Regions from separate parts of the Homo sapiens genome. Here all the other regions are linked to region 4. The links are contacts of gene promoters, found by promoter capture Hi-C in blood cells and fetal thymus (Javierre and others, 2016). All regions are on one chromosome and are shown on one strand. Each heading gives the region's core, a stretch centred on a gene start or on the middle of the fragment in contact. The rest is flanking DNA. Distances are from core to core; before and after follow the strand shown.

Region 1 (2,985 bases), core at 358-2,857, 290 kb after region 4:
CCAACACGCCCTTCTCCTCAGCAGTGGGCTGGGGGACCAGGCTCCTGAACTGCTTGTGGCTGTTCCAGCAGTGGGGAGATGGAGGGTCACACAGTCCTGAGTCTATGGCTTTGACAGCAACGGGTCCTGACTGCAGCTGTATTCGTGAAGCGAAGTACCTAATACAATCACCGAAATGTACAAATTGGACCCCTATAGGTTCAAGGATTCTTGGTGTAGGAGGTATGGCCCCCGCCCCGGGAACCAGGACCTCAGCTTTTAGAAGCAAAATGCATGAATGCAGTGATGGTTAGGCCAAGTGCCAAGGGAGACAGCCAACCCCTGCTATCATGGCCAGAGGAGGGAGAGACCACTCAGGCCTGGGTGGTGGTAGAAATCCTCACTGCCAAGGAGATTGTATGCGCAGGCGTTGGGAAGGCCCGGAGAAGCCTGAGAGACAGGCTTGGCTTGGTTATAGCAGAGCTGGGTGGAGGGAGCAGATTAGTTGGCTTAGCACAGGCTTCCTGCAGGGTGGTGGTTCTTGGCCAGATTTGCCCCAGTGGGGCTTTTGGGAAAGTATAGAAATATTGTTGTTTTTTTTTTTTTGAGACAGAGTCTTGCTCCGTTGCCCAGGCTGGAGTGCAGTGGTGTGTTCTTGGCTCACTACAACCTCCATCCACCTCCCGGGTTCAAGTGATTCTCCTGCCTCAGCCTGCCAAGTAGTTGGGACTACAGGCATGTGCCACCACACCCAGCTAATCTTTGTATTTTTAGGAGATGGGGTTTCACCATGTTGGCCAGGCTGGTCATGAACTCCTAACCTCAAGTGATCTGCCCGCCTCAGCCTCCCAAAGTGCTGGGATTACAGGTGTGAGCCACTGTGCCAGCCAAGAAACATTTTAGGTTATCATATCTGGGCAATGGATGCTACTGGCTTTAGGTGGGAAGAGGCCGGGGATACTGTTAAAATCATGCAATGTACAAGGCAGCCCCCACAAGAGAGTTCTGTGGTTGAAAATGTCCGTAGTGTTGAGGTTGAGGACTCTGCTGTGGGGCAACAGTAGGAGAAGGGGTGCTAATAGTCAGGTGGTGGACAGCAGGGAATTACAGGTACATCAGTTAGGAGTGTATACAGCTGCAAGTAAGAGACCACCAGATGGCAGGAACAGTGGGAACAGAATGGTTTATCTTTTTCATGTGTCAAGATAAGTGGTGCTAAAGTCAGGCATGGTGGCCCTCACTTATAATCCCAGCAATTCAGGAGGCTGAAGAGTGAGGATCACTTGAGGCCAGGAGTTCAAGACCAGCCTGGGCAACACAGTGAAATGCCATCTCTAAAAATAAAAATTAAAAAAATTAGCCAGGGGCTGGGTGCAGTGGCTCACGCCTGTAATCCCAGCACTTTGGGAGGCTAAGGCGGGTGGATCACCTGAGGTCAGGAGTTCGAGACCAGCCTGGCCAACATGGTGAAACCCTGTCTCTACTAAAAATATAAAATTAGCTGGGCATGGTGGCACACCTGTAATTCTACTTACTCGGGAGGCTGAGGCAAGGGAATCACTTAGAACTGGGGAGGCGTAAGTTGCAGTGAGCTGAGTCACGCCATTGCACTCCAGCCTGGGCGACAGATCAAGACCCTGTCAAGGAAAGGAAAGGAGAGGGGAGGGGAGGGGAGGGGGGAGGGGGGAGGGGGGAGGAGAAGGAGGGAGGGGGAAGATTAGCTAGGCATGGTGATGAGCACCTGTAGTCCCTCCTAGCTACTCCGAAGGCTACGGTGGGAGAACTGCTTGAGCCTGGGAGGTCAAGGCTGCAGTTAGTGATGATCGTGTCACTGCACTCCAGCCTGGGTGAAAAAGTGAGACCCTGTCTCAAAAAGAAAAAAGACAGATAGGAAGAAAGAAAGAAGAAAAGAAAGAAAAAGAGAGAGAGAGAGAGAGGGAGGGAGGGAGGGAAAGGAAAGGAAGGAAGGAAATGCATCTGATTTTTGTGTATTGATTTTGTATCCTATAATTTTGCCAAGTTCATTTATTAGTTCTAGTAATTTTTTTTATTAAAAAAAATTTTCAAGATAGGGTCTCACCCTGTTGTCTAGGCTGGAGTGCAGTGGCACGGTTATAGCTCACTGCAGTCTCCATTGCCAGGACTCAAACAGTCCTCCTGCCTCAGCCTCCTGAATAGCTGGGACTACAGGCATGCCAGCATGCCTGGCTAATTATTTTATTTTTTGTAGAGATGGGGTCTCACGTTGTTGCCCAGGCTGGTCTTAAACTCCTGGGCTCAAGTGATTGTCCTGCCTCAGTCTCCCAAAGTGCTGGGATTATAGGCATGCTCCACCACACTCAGACAAGTTATAATACATTTTCAGTGGCGTATTTACTGTTTTAGAATATAAAATCTATCTGCAAATAGAGATAAGTTTAATTTTTTTCTAATTTGGACACTCTTTTCCTTCCTCCCTCCCCTTCCCCTTTCCCTTCCCCTTCCCTTTTCCCTCCCTCCCTCTCTCCCTCTCTTTCTCTCTCTCTCTTTCTCTCTTTTCTCTTTTCTTTTCATTTCATTTTTGCCAAATTGCTCTGGTTAGAACTTTTAACACTATGTTGAATAGAAGTGGTGACAGTATCTCATTCCTAGACACTTTTCGAAAGAAGACATACATGCAACCAACAAACATTTGAAAAAAAACTCAATATCACTGATCATTAAAGAAACAGAAATCAAAACCACAATGAGATACCATCTCACATCAGCCAGAATGGCTATTATTAAAAAGTAAAAAAAAGAAAAAATAACATGCTGGCAAGGTCATAGAGAAAAGGGAACACTTGTACAGTGTTGGTGGGAGTGTAAATTAGGTCAACCATTGTGGAAAGCAGCGTGGCAATTCCTCAGAGACCTAAAGGCAGAACTACCATTCGACCCAGCAATCCCATTACTGGGTATATACCCAAAGGAATGTAAGTTGTTCTGCCATAAGGACACATGCACACGTCTGTTCATTGCAGCACT
Region 2 (3,364 bases), core at 844-3,343, 310 kb before region 4:
CACACTATGGTGCTCCATCTTTGGGTGCTGTGAGTGAGCCTCATGAGGCCCAGTGCAGTCACTGGTGGGTGCCTTCCCATACCTCCCCTTGTTTAAGCATGAACCCTTCCACCCCACAATCCCATGCCCAACACAAGGTGATAGGGACTAAACTGAATGGAATCAAACTGACGGTCTCAGCAGCCCTTTACAGATTGCTATTATTACATCTACATTGCAGCTCGGAAACTGAGGCCAGTGAGTGCTTTATAATCTTGGGATCATGATCAGGATTTTCACCCAGACCAGAAGAGTCCAGTCAAGAGCTGGGCACCACAGCAAAGTGTCCTGCTGAGTAGACAACTGCTGGACTTCGCATCCCCACAGCCCCACACAGCATCAAATGCTTTCTGGAAAAAGGTCTGGAATTCTCAAAGAAGCCCCAGAGGCCTGCACCCTCCCTGCTGGTCCTCCTGAGCTAGTCCTCAGTCAAGAGGAACCCACCCAGCTCCTTCCTTCCAGACACAGCAGCATCCAGGGCAGATGTGGGTTCCAGTCCCGGATACCTCTGACACATCGGCCTGGGACCATGAGCAAGTTTTACCTCTCCCTGAATCTCACTCTGGCCAGTCGAACACTGGGAGGGTCTGCTGAGAAGCTGGACCTGGTCCCTATTCTGGCCAGGGAGCGTGAACCCATGTCCCATTGGAGGGGGACAGTCAGGACCAACACAACAGGACAAAGAAGTGGCCCTCAGGAACTGGGTCCACGAGAGACAGGATTATTAAGGGGGGATTCTGTGCAGGCGGAAGCCTGTGGTCCTTCTCAATTTGATACTGGAGATGATCAGGAAAGCCTCAGCTTCTCCCAGAATGAATTGAGAGGACCTTCCTTCCACTATAGCGACCAAGATCTCCACCTAAGGGGCGCTCACTGGAAGTTTGCTGAAATCCCAAATCAGCATGCTCCTGATTTCAGAAGCTGCCATCCACCTTTGCACTTCAACACAAAATCCACCACATCCTAGGCTCCAGCCCTGGAACACCAAATGAAGCCACACAAGTTCTGCACACCAAGACCTCTTCAATGGAAGGAAAATGACCACTGAGTTTGGTCCACCCTTTTCCCACCTCCCGTACCAAATCCCAAATCATCAAAACAGGCCCAACTCTGCATCTTACAGCCAGGGAAACTGGGGACCACCAGGCCAGGGCCCTCCATCACCAATGTCCCCCCCAGAACTGGCCAGGCTCAGTCACCACTCAGTGGACCCCAGCCCTCAGCAAGCACTCTTCCCCAACAGCCTTTACACACATTCTCTCTCTCTCTCTCTCTCTTACTTTTTCTTGGATAATTTCTTTAGCAAGGTACTTCAAAACAAGCTTTTAGTTTAATCTATTTCCATTTTGTGAGCAATGGTTCTTCCTAGAGTCCTGATTTCTTGCCGAAGAAGGCATTAGGAGAGGATGGCTCAGAGAGTCGCCCCGCTTCCCCTCTCAGCCAGTTCCAGGACACACACAGGCGTCCACACACTGAGGGGCCCTGGGAGGACCAGCTACCCAGTCCGGAGTCCACCCGCCCACGCCCCTGTGAGTGGTGGGCAGGCACTCAATGCCAGGACAGAGAGCTCACTACCTTACAGACAGCCCACCCTGGGGGATAAGGGGTAAAGAGCCAGACCTGGTCCACCTCTTCTCGCCCACCCTGAGGCGACCCCAGAACCGGGGCGTGGGGGGACATCACAACTAGAAGGACCGGGGGCTGCCGGACCCTGCCGTCAGAAGACCCCGGAGGGGGCCCTGTGCCTCCCTTGCCCGCCAGAGTCCTTCGCCTTCAGCTTCTCCCGGGTGGAACCCTCCCGCAGAGCCTGGGAATCCCGCCAGGGTCACTGTGCGCCCCTCCCGAGCTCCGGGGCAAGGGAAGGACCGCGGCGCAGGTGCGGGAAGGCGCGGGTCCACCCGGGTCCGGTGAACCCCGAGGAGTGGGGGCGCCCCCGGTGCGGGCCGTCGCCCCCTTACCGCAGAGCAGCAGCAGCAACGGGAGAAGTTGCGGGCGCCGCAGCGCTCCAGTCTCCATGGCTGGCCGGCCGCAGCTGGGTCACGCTCGGTCCCGCTGGGGGCGCGGCTGGGGGACGCCCGGTTGGGGTTGGGGTGGGGCGGGGCCTCAGGGGGTCCGCCCTCAGGCCGCACCCCCAGACCACGCCTGCGGCCGTGCCCCGTTGCCTCCAGATGTGGGGTGCAGTCCCTGCAGGCGCGCCGGGTGGGAGGGATGGGGGCGGCTGGAGTCTCAGCGGGGTGAGAGGGGGGCGAGGGCAGGGTTTCGAGCTGGGGACAAGCTGGGGTAAGGTGGGGTGCCGGCTGATGGGCTCTGAGGGCGGGGCTGGGGTGCTGAGCTGCAAAGGAGCTTTTTGGGAGCAGATTGTAGGGGCAGACTGGGAGGTGAGCTGGGGTGAGCGTGGGGGCCGGCTGACGGTGGGCTGGGATGCAGGCTGGAGAGACTTGGGGAACTTCCGTCCAGGCTCAGGGGCAGAGGGTGGGGGTAGACCGGGGAGGGAGCTGAGGTGAGGATGAAGCGCTGGCTGATGATGGCCTAGAGGAGTCTGGGGGTAGACTGGAGGAAGGTGGACCTGGGAGTGGGCTAGGTGTGCCCTGGCCGAAAGTAGACCAGAGTCCAGAGCTGCCCCCAGGCAGGGAGGGGAACTTTGAGCAGAGATACATCTAGGAGCCAGGTCTCCAAAGGTCAGGAAAGTGCATAAAAGAGGTTGGGGGGTGTGTGTGTGTGCGTCTGTGTGTGTGCGTGTGTGTGTTGTTCATGGAGTACGTGTGTGTGATGTGCATGTGGGGTGTGTGTAGATGCATGTGTGTGCATGGAGTGTGTGATGTATGGTGTGTGTGTGGCATGTGTGTGTTTGAGTCTGAGACAAGGTGTGTTTGTGAGTGTATGCTTGGGAAACAGTGTGTATGAGAGAGACTGGAGGGTGTGGCAACTACACACACAGAGACGTATCACACACCAAGAACCAAGCCACAAGCAAACCAAGGGACAGGAGAGTATCTGGCACCACCAAAGACCTGGCCTTGAAGAGTGTCAGGGTCCCTGAGGCGAAGGAGGGCCTCAGTTTCTCCAGCCACAGGTCACTTGGCCAGATGGGTCACCTCTGTCACCCTCAGCCCCTAGCACAGGCCCTGGCTCCAGTGGACACTTAATGGTGTCTTAAGAATTGTCACTGGTCAGGACTTCCGAGAGCCAGCTAGAGGCACCTCTCTGCCCTCCAGGGCCCACCCACCACCCCTGGGGGCACATGCTGGTCTGAGGTTGGGGCACAGGCCCAGGCTCCTACATGGATGGGCCCTCCACTCCTCTGAGCCGTAGGTACTGCTACCTT
Region 3 (3,274 bases), core at 544-3,043, 370 kb after region 4:
TTTGGGGAATAATGACAAGAAGTTTGTACATGTTCAGCACAGACAAAACAATCCATTTTTTTTTTTTTTCAAATTTTTGGATTTTTTTTTTTTTTTTTTTTTTTTTTGATACTGGGTCTTGCTCTGTTGCCCATACTGGAATGCAGTGACATGATCTTGGCTCACTGCAGCCTCTGCCTTCTGAGCTCAAGCGAGCCTCCCACCTCAGCCTCCCAAGTAGCTGGGACTACAGGCGTGCACCACCTTGCCCAGCTGATTTTTGTATTTTTTGTAGAGATAGGGTCTTACCATGTTGCCCAGGCTGGTGTCGAACTGGTGAGCTCAAGTGATCCACTCGCCTCAGCCTCGTAAAGTGCTGGGATTATAGGTGTGAGGCACCATGCCTGGCCATTTTTTGGGAATATTTTTGATCCTCAGCAAATATTTTGGTAAATATTTTTTGGGAATATTTTGATTTGGGCTATGGAACCCATGGATAGCGAGGGCTGACTATATCTGCTGCTTCTGTTTCTTTGGTGGAACCTTGACTTATACAGATATTTTCATGATATAATGTTAAGTGAGAAGGGGAGAATTCAAACTATATAGTCTAATATCAAATTTGAAAACTTTAAAAATTATGTATGTAGAAAAAAAGCTGGAAGAAAATAGTAGTAGTAATCACAGAGTGGTGGAATTGTGAGTGTTCTTCATTTTTATCTTTGTCCCTTACTATATTTTCTAATTTTTCTGTAATGACCATTTATTTTGTTTTATTAATTTTTTTGTATTCCTTTTATGATCTCTAAAAAATGAAAGGAGGGTATTGGTTTTGATTTCTGAGTAATAGACTAGAATAGCTACTTTGTTGTTTTGTAGAGACCCTATTTTAAAATTCTTGAACCAGTGAATTTTGTTCTGGGTTAGAATTAGAGTTAGTTTTGTGAGTTCTACCTTAAAAATAAGTATAGAGTGAAGACTTGGATATGTTTCAGGAAAGCTAACCTTTCTACTTGGTAGCTCTTTGTTCAGAATAGACTGGTACCGCAAGAATCCTAATCAAACCTTTCCAAGGACTGGAACATTCTCAGCTTCAGTTACTTGTTTTCCTTGAACAAAACAGGAAGTTGTGGCACCGATCTCTAGTTATACCTGAAATGTAGTGTTTTAGCAGATTTGAAAATAGAATGTGAAAGACCATCCTTTTCCTTGTTCTACCTTTAGCTGCACCCCAAGTCCTCCCACCAGTGTTCAGGATGGTTTATCCTATAAATTATAGATCTGCAGTTCTTTTAATTGAGTAATTTAAGGTAGTTATTCTGTAGAAGACCACACAGAAGCACCATCTTTTGTGAGCACTCTGTCTAAAATCTGAGAATCTAAGTCTTAGATTGCTGATATCTGATGACTCTTACTTGACATGTTTTTCGGTTCTAACCAGTATTAGGCAAAAACTCCCTTTTTGTATACTACAGTAAAGTCACATCACATGCTTATTTAATTTAAATAAATTCAGTGTAAGTGCTGGGAAAGAAAGAAACAAGATTAAAAATAATGTATTTATATTTTGTATATATGTATTTTGAATTTTATTTTTTTAGAGACAGGATCTTGCTGTGTTTTTCAGGCTGAACTCGAACTTCTGGGCTCAAGTACTCCTCCTGCCTCTATATATGCATTTTTGTTGTAAGGTGTTCATTACTGTATACAGACAATTGTTTTGTGTTTTAGTAAAGTATAATTTATGTAACAATACAATTCATTCCTTTTAGAATACAGTTTATGACTTTGGACAAATGTAGTCTTGTAACCACCACAGTCAAGATAGATGACCAGTATGGTTTGGCTGTGTCCCCACCCAAATCTCATCTTGAATTGCAGTTCCCATAATCCTCACATGTCATGGGAGGGACCCGGTGGGAGGCAGTGAATCATGGGGGCAGTTATATCCATGTGGTTCTCGTGATAGTGAGTTCTCATAGACGGTTTTATAAGGGACTTTTCCCGCTTTGCTTGGCACGTCTTCCTGCTGGTATGTGAAGAAGGATGTGTTTACTTCCCCTTCTGTCATGATTGTAAGTTTTCTGAGGCCTCCCCAGCCATGCTGAACTGCGAGTCAATTAAACCTCTTTTCTTTATAAATTACCCCATCTTGGGTATGTCCTTATAGCAGCATGAGAATGGACTAATACAATGACATTTCCATTGGTGCCAGACTCCCAGATCCTGGCAACCTTGTGCCTGTGTTCTGCCCTAAAGCTGTTGCAGCATACATTGTTATTTATACATAATAATGTACAGGTTTCATTTATAGTATTTTTGGGGTGATTTGGGGGAAATTTTATTTTGACCTAATTTTACCATCACTCTGATTTTAGCATCTCCCTGACTAATAACCTACAATTGGTCTGAATTTCATTCTTGTTTCTGCCCTACTGTTGCTGCCAGGGCATGTCAAATGAAGATCAGAAATGCCCCCACCCCAGGGCTTAAAGGAACCTATCTTTTTCTTTTTTTAGACGGAGTTTTGCTCTTGTTGCCCAGGCTGGAGTGCAATGGCATGATCTCGGCTTACTGCAACTTCCACCTCCCAGGTTCAAGCGATTCTCCTGCCTTAGCCTTGCAAGTAGCTGGGAGTGCAGGTGCCTGCCACCATGCCTGGCTAATTTTTGTATTTTTTTAGTAGAGACAGGGTTTCACCATGTTGGCCATACTGGTCTGAAACTCCTGACCTTGGGTGATCCACCCATCTCGGTCTCCCAAAGTGCTGGAATTACAGGCGTGAGCCACCGCGCCCGGCCCAAAGTAAATAACCCATCTTATTCCTCAGAGAAGAGAGAGAATTTGCACACAGATATTTCCCTATTTGCACAAGATAGCATCAGAGAATGTGCTTATATTCTGTAAGGATGCTTTACAATTTTAATAGTTGTTCAGGCTGGGTGTGGTGGCTCATGCCTGTAATCTCAGCACTGTTAGAGGCCGAGGCCGGCTGATCATTTGAAGTCAGGAGTTTGAGACAAGCCTCACCAACATGGTGAAACTCTGTCTCTATAAAAATACAAAAAATTAACCAGGTGTGGTGGTGCGTGCCTGTAATCTCAGCTACACAGGAGGCTGAGGCAGCAGAATTGCATGAACCCGGGAGGTGGAGGTTGCAGTGAGTTGAGATTGTGCCACTGCACTCCAGCCTGGGCGACAGAGCAGAGCGAGACTCCATCTAAAAAAAAAAAAAAAAAAAAAAAAAGAATTGTTCATAGTAAAGACTTTGTAAAAAGTGAAAAAGTGCCATTTG
Region 4 (3,321 bases), core at 370-2,869:
GGCGGAGGTTGCAGTGAGCCCAGATCACACCACTGCACTCCATCCAGCCTGGGCAACAGAGTGAGACTTCATCTCAAAAAGTAAATAAATAAATAAATTGTGTTAACACTGTGGAAGAAAAACGATCGCTGGAGAGCCTGTGCACTCACATACATCCTTTAATTTTTACAACAGCTTCCGGGGGAAGGCGATTCCACTTTAGAGCTTTTCTTCCTTTCTAGCTGGGAGTTATCCTCCAAATTTTAACCTAATGATGTAAGCAAAATAAACACACTGAAGAGGTTGAGAAAAGAAAAACGGCTCACAACAGTCTGAGCTCTGTGAGGTCTGCAAAATGTATTAGGCCTAGAGGGACATGAGTATGGGACTTCGGTTATGCCCACCCTCTGCCCCCACATACACACATACCCAATCCCATGCATACCCAATTGTTTAAAGTCATTTCATTCCTGACTATCGGCCTCATCCATTACCTTTTTTTTTATTATTATTTTTTAGACAGGGTATATTCTGTCTCCCAAGCTGGAGTGCAGTGGTGCGATCATGACTCACTGCAGCCTCGACCTCCTGGGCTCAAGAGATCCTCCTGTCTCAGTCTTGACAGTAGGTGAGGCTACAGGTTCGCGCCACCAAGCCGGCCCCATTATCTTCGTGTTCTTAGAATTTGTAATACATGCCGGGCGCGGTGGCTCACGCCTGTAATCCCAGTACTTTGGGAGGCAAAGGGGGGCAGATCACCTGAGGTCAGGAGTTCGAGACCAGCCTGACCAACACGGAGAAACCCCGTCTCTATTAAAAATACAAAAGTTAGCTGGGCATTGGGGCGCGCGCCTGTAGTCCCAGGACTCCATCTCTAAAAAAGGAAAAAGAATTTGTCATACAAATAACAATATGTAGCCAATTGATAGCTTTTGTTTTTGTTTGTTTGTTTTGAGACGATGCGTCGCCCAGCTGGAGTGCAGTGGCGCGATCTCGGCTCACTGCAACCTCCGCCTCCGGGGTTCAAGCGATTCTCCCGCCTCAGCCTGCCGCGGACCTTGTCAGGGTCCGCGCTGAGAGGACGTCAGGGTAGTCAGTCCGCCAGAATACGGCTGAGCATGAGGCCTGCCTAACCTTGAAACCCAGCGCCCTCCTGATCCACACGTTCTAAGACGAATAAATCCTCACAGTCTGTGAAAACCCACCAGGAGAAGCACGTCCAACACTCTTTACCTCCCCAAACAAGTCTCAGAAGCGGGAAAACCAACGCCGCGAATGGGCGGGAAAGCCACAGCGCCTGCAATCGCTTCACCTTATTAGCTAATTTTGCTGTCCTTCCCAGTGGCCCGCCTCCCTTGCTCGCGGGCGATATTTTTATTGGCTTTCGTCTGCGAGGCGTCCAATCTCATTGGTTTGCCTTTCTGTTCGTCAGGCTTGGGCGCCTGGTGAAAGGCAGAGAGCGCGTCACTATTGGGGCTGGAGGCCCCGCCTCCGCGTGCCGTGTGCAAAAACAAACAGCCGTTAGGAAGGCGGTGCCGGGGGGGCGGGGTCTGGCTAGAAGGAGGCGCGCGATTGAACAGCCGCTGGGGTTCGAACCAGCAAGACAAGCGGGCATTGGCCACAGCAGCGCGAGGCGGGCACGGGGTATTGTCCGGCTCCGGCGGCGGCGGTCGGTGCTGCGAGAGCGGCGGCGGCGGCGCGGGTCGGCAGCGGGAGGGCGCGCGGCCGAGCGGAGGCGGAGTCGGCGCCGAGAACATGGTAAGGGCGGCCGGGTGGGCCGGGGGCACGGGGCCTGGGAGAGCAGAGCGCGGAGGCCCTGGCGTCGGCGCCGCTACCTGTGGAGTCGGGAGTTTGCGGGTGTCTGGGCTTCGTCCGGCCGAGCCCCTCGCCGCCCGCCGGGGGGCGCCATGTCCCAGCTGCGGAGCCCGACACGGGTCCCCGGGTGAGAGCTGGGCCTGGCCGGGTAGAGCGCGAAGTCTGTTCCGAGCCGGATAGATCTGTCCCGACGCTTGTGACGCTGCACCGCCCGTCTTAGAAGGAGGAGGACGGCAGAATCCGGCTTGGAAATGTAGAAACAAGTGCTGGATCTTAATGTGATCGCTTCTCTGTATGAATGAGGTCAAACAGGCTGCCGCTGTACAAGTTAGATAAGTCTTTGGCGATGTTTGGTTACGTAATCTCCCTGGCAGTCAGTTTGAGGGTTTCTGCGAAAGGGTGCTTGTATTTGTGGTCTTTTGAGCGACAAAGAATGGTTTTATAGACCAGAACCACACGATTTGTTCTAGGTGATTGCACAGGTTAGAAATGAACGCCCGTTATCTTCTGAGCCCCTTGCAGTTTGCGGTTTTCATTATACAACAGTACTTTCCTTTGCCCTTGCTATGGATTTTCAGTCTTAAAGTATTCATCTTTTCATTCTGAAATTCAGATCTAGATAAGAAGAGTGTGGCTTTAAAAAAATGAAAGTGAATAGAACTTCAGCCCCATTTTAAAGTTGAGGGGAAAAGAGAAGGTGCTAAAGGATACGCTCTGAGTTGCATCAAAGATTGTGTAAAAATAATAAGACTGTTATGGAATCTTATTTTTGCCGGTATTCGTGCTTTAAGCATTCTGTTGAAAGGTTACTTCAACGGGAGCTACCTGCTTAAAAGTTAGCACCAAGCTGTCATTTATCATACTGCAGATAGTATTAGATGATTTGTCTTGTGCTTGATGTGACAGATATGGTATTGAATAGACATAACACCTAACTGTAAACAGATTGGCCAGTCGAGAGGACAATGTTTGGTTATTGTAAAATACCCAAATCTTAGAGCTGGAATAGACTTTAGGGATAATTGCTTCCAACGTCTAACGTATAGTTTATTGTTATTGTAAAAAACCCAAATCTTAGAGCTGGAATAGACTTTAGGGATAATTGCTTCCAACGTCTCACGTATAGTTTATTGTTATTGTAAAGTACTTTATAGTACTTTATCAAACTGAGGTACAGCTTACATCTAATCTGTAAAAGGATTTGCTCAAACAGATGATTTTCATGATTCTAGTTTTTTGTGGTTTTTTTTTTTTTTGGTTTTTTGTTGTTTGTTTTTTGTGGTTTTTTGTGGTTTTTTTTTTTGAGACGGAGTCTCACTCTGTTGCCAGGCTGGAGTGCAATGGGCGATCTTCACTCACTGCAACCTCCGCCTCCCGGGTTCAAGCGATGCTCCTGCCTCAGCCTCCCGAATAGCTACAGGCGTGCGCCACCACGCCCTGCTAATTTTTTGTATTTTTAGTAGAGATTGGGTTTCACCATGTTGGCCAGGATGGTCTCGATCTCTTGACCTTGTGATCCGCCCCCCT

What was found. The method cuts DNA at HindIII sites, captures the fragments that hold promoters and counts their contacts. A CHiCAGO score of 5 or more calls a contact.
Region 1: a fragment that was not itself captured here is called in contact with the fragment with the promoter of H2AZ2 in region 4 in 12 of 17 cell types (total CD8 T cells, naive B cells, total B cells and 9 more); the score reaches 10.9 in total CD8 T cells.
Region 2: the fragment with the promoter of RAMP3 here is called in contact with the fragment with the promoter of H2AZ2 in region 4 in 12 of 17 cell types (erythroblasts, total B cells, non-activated CD4 T cells and 9 more); the score reaches 8.6 in erythroblasts.
Region 3: a fragment that was not itself captured here is called in contact with the fragment with the promoter of H2AZ2 in region 4 in 1 of 17 cell types (monocytes); the score reaches 7.5 in monocytes.

Annotation. Positions count from the first base shown.
Region 1 is chr7:44,557,144-44,560,128 of GRCh38, reverse strand. No RefSeq gene overlaps it. Among named protein-coding and RNA genes, the nearest start is that of DDX56, 15 kb to the left of the region's middle. The HindIII fragment of the contact is 4,749 bases long and covers 1-2,985 here.
Region 2 is chr7:45,156,520-45,159,883 of GRCh38, reverse strand. RAMP3 (receptor activity modifying protein 3) reads right to left here and starts at 2,093. Exons shown (of 3, transcript NM_005856.3): 1 at 1,998-2,093. The coding sequence starts at 2,055. The HindIII fragment of the contact is 23,160 bases long and covers 1,364-3,364 here.
Region 3 is chr7:44,477,775-44,481,048 of GRCh38, reverse strand. All of the region lies in intron 2 of NUDCD3 (NudC domain containing 3), which reads left to right. Among named protein-coding and RNA genes, the nearest start is that of NUDCD3, 11 kb to the left of the region's middle. The HindIII fragment of the contact is 6,664 bases long and covers 1-3,274 here.
Region 4 is chr7:44,846,385-44,849,705 of GRCh38, reverse strand. It overlaps H2AZ2 (H2A.Z variant histone 2), which reads left to right and starts at 1,619. Exons shown (of 5, transcript NM_012412.5): 1 at 1,619-1,737. The coding sequence starts at 1,735. It overlaps H2AZ2-DT (H2AZ2 divergent transcript), which reads right to left and starts at 1,235. Exons shown (of 2, transcript NR_187581.1): 1 at 1,185-1,235; 2 at 141-247. RefSeq lists silencers at 1,284-1,343, 1,604-1,993 and enhancers at 920-1,478, 1,479-2,036. The HindIII fragment of the contact is 6,622 bases long and covers 1-3,321 here.